2 separate regions of the Homo sapiens genome follow, and region 1 is linked to region 2. The links are contacts of gene promoters, found by promoter capture Hi-C in blood cells and fetal thymus (Javierre and others, 2016). All regions are on one chromosome and are shown on one strand. The core of a region is centred on a gene start or on the middle of the fragment in contact, and the rest is flanking DNA. Distances in the headings are between cores, read along the strand shown. Region 1 overlaps SMCHD1 (structural maintenance of chromosomes flexible hinge domain containing 1). Region 2 holds the start of METTL4 (methyltransferase 4, N6-adenosine).

The links. Contacts are between HindIII fragments. The CHiCAGO score rates a contact against its expected background, and 5 or more counts as called.
Region 1: a fragment that was not itself captured here is called in contact with the fragment with the promoter of METTL4 in region 2 in 9 of 17 cell types (naive CD8 T cells, total CD8 T cells, naive CD4 T cells and 6 more); the score reaches 14.8 in naive CD8 T cells.

The regions. Positions count from the first base shown.
Region 1 is chr18:2,675,207-2,678,132 of GRCh38, forward strand. All of the region lies in intron 5 of SMCHD1 (structural maintenance of chromosomes flexible hinge domain containing 1), which reads left to right. Among named protein-coding and RNA genes, the nearest start is that of SMCHD1, 21 kb to the left of the region's middle. The HindIII fragment of the contact is 8,128 bases long and covers 1-2,926 here.
Region 2 is chr18:2,569,656-2,572,836 of GRCh38, forward strand. It overlaps METTL4 (methyltransferase 4, N6-adenosine), which reads right to left and starts at 1,850. Exons shown (of 9, transcript NM_022840.5): 1 at 1,494-1,850. It overlaps NDC80 (NDC80 kinetochore complex component), which reads left to right and starts at 1,902. Exons shown (of 17, transcript NM_006101.3): 1 at 1,902-2,028. RefSeq lists enhancers at 943-1,865, 1,748-1,907. The HindIII fragment of the contact is 2,186 bases long and covers 1,604-3,181 here.

The DNA.
Region 1 (2,926 bases), core at 175-2,674, 110 kb after region 2:
ATATAAGCTATAGAAGCTGTCATTTTAGTTATTACTTCTCATTCCTGACCTCAGCCTTTTTTTTTTTTTTTTTTTGGAGACAGAGTCTCGCTCTGTCATCCAGGCTGAAGTGCAGTTGTGCAATCTCGGCTCACTGCAACCTCTGCCTCCCAGGTTCAAACGATTCTTCTGCCTCAGCCTCCCGAGTAGCTGCGACTACAGGCACCCACCACCATGCCTGGCTATTTTTTGTATGTTTAGTAGAGATGGGGTTTCACCATGTTGGCCAGTCTGGTCTCGAACTCCTGACCTGGTGATCCGCCCTCCTCAGCCTCCCATAGTGCTAGGATTACAGGCGTGAGCCACTGCACCTGGCCTAGATTTCTCCACAACCATTCTATTTCACCATTTTCATAAATATGTGGCATTTAAAGGATTTATAAAAAGCCAGGGAGAAGGCAAAGACCACTGTCTTTGATAGTGTGAGGATAGGATTTAGCATATCACAGAAGTATTAGGTGGAAGGGAAGGTAGAACAGATGGTAGATTAGGCAAAATGGTCAGAAAAACATCAGTTATATCAACTGGAAGAGTAGAAAGAAATGCAAATCTTAACTGAATTCATGGGACATTGACTCTGATTTCTCTCTAGTTCTTAGAACAAAACAAACTTTTAAACTTAACCAAATATTAGGGAAATTGTAATTTCTGGCAAAAATCTTTTTGCTGCTGGTTTTAGTCTTAGCTTTATGGGTTTGGTGTCAGTAAACAATCAGTTGTTATTATAGCTGTTAGGTACTCGTACTGTCTTTTAAGTCCATTATCAGTTCCTTGACCCACTCTAATTTCTATCAATATCAGATACACCCCTTCAGCCTCTAGCTTCTGCTCAGTTGCTTTACTCCTTCCATTTGTTTTTTTCTGGATACAAGGATGGATGTCATAGAAGACAGGCTGTAGAAGAAAGGCAAGAACAGGCTAAAAGTACTAAACAACTAACAGTCTTGACCTGTAGCTTATGTTGTATTGGAGAGAGAAACAGAAGTAAATACAAAAAATTACATGTAAAAGCATTTCAGTTATTATTACTATGAATAAAATGTAAGAGTAATGTTGAAGGAATGGATTGCTAGAAAAAAAATGTAGAATAATAGAGCTGATGCACATCTCCTCTAGATAAGGTGGTTGGAGAAGAGGGCCTCTTTGAGATTATATTTGAGTTGAGGCTTGAATGATCAGAAGAAAGTAGCCAAATAAAGATCTGTGAGAAGTGTGTTTCAGGTAGAAGAAGCACCAGCAAAGCAAAGACTGAAATTGTGACAGTCTCATTTTGTTTGAAGGACAGAAAGGAGACTATTGTGACTGTAGCATAGTAGATAGAGGGGAGAGTAGAGGGAGATGTGAGAATTTCAGTTTGGAAATATTATTTGTAACTCTCATTTACCTGGGTACTACTCCCTCACCCCACCCTTTTTATTTTGAAACGTTTCAAGCCAATAGACAAGATGAAAGAACTAGCACCCATATATCCTTCACCTAGATTTATCAGTTGTTAACATTTTGTCACATTTATGATCTGTCTACACACTTACACACACACACTTTGCTTTTCTGAATCATTTGAAAGTACACTGCTGTCAGTTTGTGAGATTTCACTCCCAAATACTGTAGCATGTGTATTCTGAGGACAAGCGGATTCTCATAAATAACTACAAAATCATTATTACATCTAAGAAATTTATCATTAATGCAACAATATTTAACATAAGATTTTCATAAGTTTTTTTCCTGTTGTCATGTTCGATCTCCTTCATTCTATGATAGTTTCCCTAGCTTTTGTGTTTTTCATAATATTTCAATTTTTCTGTAGTGTTCAGGCTAGTTTTCTTGTAGAATGGTCCACAACCTGGATCTGAGTGTTTCCTCAGCATTGTTTTTTTTCCTTTAGTATTTTATTATGAACATTTAAAAACATACAGAAAAGTTGAAATTCTACAGGGAATACCCATATACTCACACCTAGGTTTTACCGTTGATAGTTGCTTTACTCCTTATATATCTGTCCCACCATTAGTTTATCTGGTTTTTTAATACAGTTCAAAACAAGTTATAAATGTCAGTATACTTTTTCCTAGTTTTGAAAGTATCCGTATTAATTTCTAGGGTTCAATATTTTTAATCTTGAGGTAAAATTCACATATTATACAGTTAATTGCTTGTATCTGTCTTAAATGTATCTTCATTGAATTTATCTTTTATGGAGATAAAATTTACGTATCATAAAATTCACAGTATTAAAGCATACTGTTCAGTAGTTTGAGTTAAAATTGTGCAACCATCACCACTAATTCCAGAATATTTTTACAACTCCAAAAGAAACACTGTACTAAGTGGTTGTCACTTTCTATCTCCTGGCAATCACTAATATCCTTTTAATAGTTTTGTTTTGTTTTGTTTTTTGAGACAAATCTCGCTCTGTCGTTCAGGCTGGAGTGTAGTGGTGCTATCTTGGCTCACTGCAACCTCTGCCTCTTGGGCTCAAGTGATCCTCCCACTTTAGCCTTCCAAGTAGCTGGGACCACAGGTGCATGTCACCACACCTGGCTAATTTTTTATAGAGGTGGAGTCTCACTATGTTGCCCAGGCTGGTCTCCAACTCCTGAGCTGAAGCGATCCACCTGCCTCAGCCTCCCAAAGTGCTGGGATTACAGAAGTGAGCCACCGCATCTGGCCAATAGTTGTTAATCTACATTTTTAGTTGTTTTTCTAGGGATTACAACCAGCATCTTAATTGATAACAATCCAGTCTGGATTAATACCAACGACATACTCTGTAGTATACAAAAACCGCTCCTACTTAGCTTTGTTCTCCTCCCACTTTCGTGTACTATCATTTTCGTATAAATGTGATCGTTATACATTATAGCCCTGTTACTAGAGTTTTATA
Region 2 (3,181 bases), core at 600-3,099:
ACCCTTGGCCAAAGCACAGATCATAAGCCCTCTGCTCCGCTCCCCTCTGAGATTCGCCTTCCATGAGGAATTCAGGGCTTTCCCCATATCTTCTCTTCCCCACCTTTATCAAGAGATGCTGCTCCCTCCCCGTCAAGTCTCTTTTTGCACTGTCACCACCCAACACTTTCCACGACACTTCTTTGCTTTGACCAGAAGCCATAAGGTAAGGTTGGAAGAACATTTATTCACTCTCCACCAGCCTAGGAAATTAATAGTGGGTCCTCAGCCCTGCCACCTTCTGCTGTTATCATCAGCCTTTTAACTCAGGTTTTGATATGGTGAAAAGAGTCACCAGGGTTATTCAGACACCCCGGCTGTCAGGGTCCTTGGTGGTTAAACCTGGGAAAAGGCCACATGAAGACAACTGTAAGCACACATGATCCCTCTGAATTGTTTTCTTTTCCTGCAATTGTGCTTGCTCTTAAAAATTGAAGTTTTAAACAGGGCTCACATGTGATCATCCTTCCATCTATTGGAGTCTAGCTTGAAATGTGACAACCGGAACCAAAAGAACCTTGAATTTGGTGCCTACTTTGGTTTTGGTGCTGCTGCTTCTCAAGATCCTCAGCAGGGATTAAGAAGTTGGGGTGCACAGCAGGAATATCAGGAAATTGGCAGGCTTGACTTCCTGGCAAATTGCTAGCAGGACCACTAAATGCTGAACTGTACTGTGAATGTATACCGAAATACAAGCAATTATTTCTGTACTAAAGGTGTTTTTAATTTTGTATTTGTGTAAAACCACCTTTGGAAGCAGCAACTATCTAGTCAGAAAAGCAAATGATGTTTCCATTAATCTTTTCTGGGGAAAACATTAGTGCTAAGGATTTAACAATCTGTAGGTAAAGTTTAACCTAACAGTATTCCACAAGGAGACTTTTTATTATCAGACGGTTGCCTAATTTTCATATAATTTTTATATTAATATAATCCTTGGTTCCTCCCCATCCCCTTCATAGGCCACAGCTGAGGTGAAAAGGGTCCTGGAATGGCTAGTGAGAGCTAGAAATTCAGACGGGAAAATTGAAACTCAGAGCAGAAAGGCAAGCTGCCCAAAAATAACAACGCTAGTTAATGGCACAATTGCTACCAGACCCAAGTATCCAGACTTCCTGGAGCTGTGAGATCTTTCATCACCACCACTCTCCAGGTACCGGGCAGTGCCTGTTTCTGGATTCAAACTCACAGCAGCGAGGAAATCCTATTTTAGCAAAGTGATCTACTGTTACTGTTGTTAGTGCACCCCTCTCCTGCGTCTCTGCTTCACATCCACTCCCTCGCCGCCCGCCCCCAAACACTTGGATTCTTCCTAGCCTCTCACAGGTCAGCCACCACCAGAGGACCGTGAGCCTCCGGCAAGTGATCAAATACTGAGCCCGAATTTCGGCAGCCGTACCAACGCAATCCTGGGAGCCCATTCCACCCACTCCGCAGCCCCTCTCCCACCTCACCTCTTCCCTTGTCAGAAAAGCGGACGCCGCCTTCCCAGACTCTCCTCATGAAAACAGCACCCATCTAAATAGTGATCATGAAAAATGCCCCTTCCAGTCCACAGAGAAAAAGCTTTCTCCTTTTCTAAGAGTCCATGGGCGCCGCCATGTTGCTGTACGGAAAAACGTTTCCAGGGCGAGTTGAGCGTTCAGGGCACTCCTCGGCGCTCAAGCTGCCCACAGGTCTTCCGACCTAACTTTAGGGGTCGTGCCAGTCTTCGTAGAGACGGCCACACTGGCCCACAGACCCCAGTTCCTGGGGTGACGCAGCTGGGCGCGACCAGCACGCAGCCTTCCAGCGACGAGGCGGTCGCATGGAAGTTACTGCGCGCGTCGTGCGTAATGACGTCAGCGCCGGCGGAGAATTTCAAATTCGAACGGCTTTGGCGGGCCGAGGAAGGACCTGGTGTTTTGATGACCGCTGTCCTGTCTAGCAGATACTTGCACGGTTTACAGAAATTCGGTCCCTGGGTCGTGTCAGGAAACTGGAAAAAAGGTGACTGAATGACATCGGATTAACTTTGTTTCTGCAGAGCTGTTCTGGAGGAAGAAAGTGATGGCGCCAATGACTTAAATTTAGAGGTCCTGAGGCGATGTTTTGGTGTTTGTTTGCTGTTGGGAGAAGCCTCGAGGCCAAAACTGTGCGAGGCGCTGGTTTCACGGGATCTATTAAATTTCTAGTGGCAACGATTTCCCAAGGAGGAAAGGGGAGGGCCTGGGGGACACTGATGAGGAGTGGAGGCTCGGGAGAGGAAACGGGGAAGAATTGAAGGGGGCGGAAAGAGATGGACAAGAGAGGACTCGTTGGGTGGGTTGCGTCTGAATACTAGTGTAGCTTCTTATGGCCGTGTAGGACTGCGTGTAGAAGTCTTCATCTTAAATCATGAGAGCTACATTCTAAGTGGAGATTAAACGTGGACACACAGGTGTGAGTGGAAAAGTTGAATAGATGAACAAGCGCATATTGAAGAGGAAATAGGCGGCCAAAATCAAGAAGAGTCTAATCAGTGTAAAAGACTAAGGAGTACCCAGAGAAGTAAAAGGATTGTCACCTTCCTGAAAGCCAGGGCAGGACCTGAGAAGGCTGGGTGCAGAGATGAGACAGGATCAAAAGTTTTGTCAATCATGTGTATCCTAGGAGACAAATTTTTTAGCAGATGTGAAGGGAGTGACCTGTTAATGTGGTTTGTAAATGGAGGCAGCCTATAGACCATTTTATGGACCGGATGATTTATCCTTGTTGAAGGGGAGATTGATGCCAAAAGGGCAGTAATTGAGGAAACAATGGGTTAAGGACAGAGCAGGAGAGATTGACATTAGGAAAACAGAATAATTCCATTCTCTGAAACCAAAGAAAAGGAAACATTTTGAGGTGAATAAGAGAATTTGAGGTAATTTTTTTGTCTTCCTATTGAAATAGGCACAGCCAACAGCAGTAATGTGGTCTGGGTAACAGACAGGGCTTTAGCTACCACGGATACCCTTGTGAAGGCAAAAACCGTAACTTACTCGTCTTTGCATCTCCTGCATTGCCTAGCACACTCCCCTATATATATAGTGGGCAGTTAATAAATGTTTATGTTGAATATTTTTAAATGGAATTAAATAGATGTTCCTTGCAAATGAGAACTTCAGTGTACATGAACAAA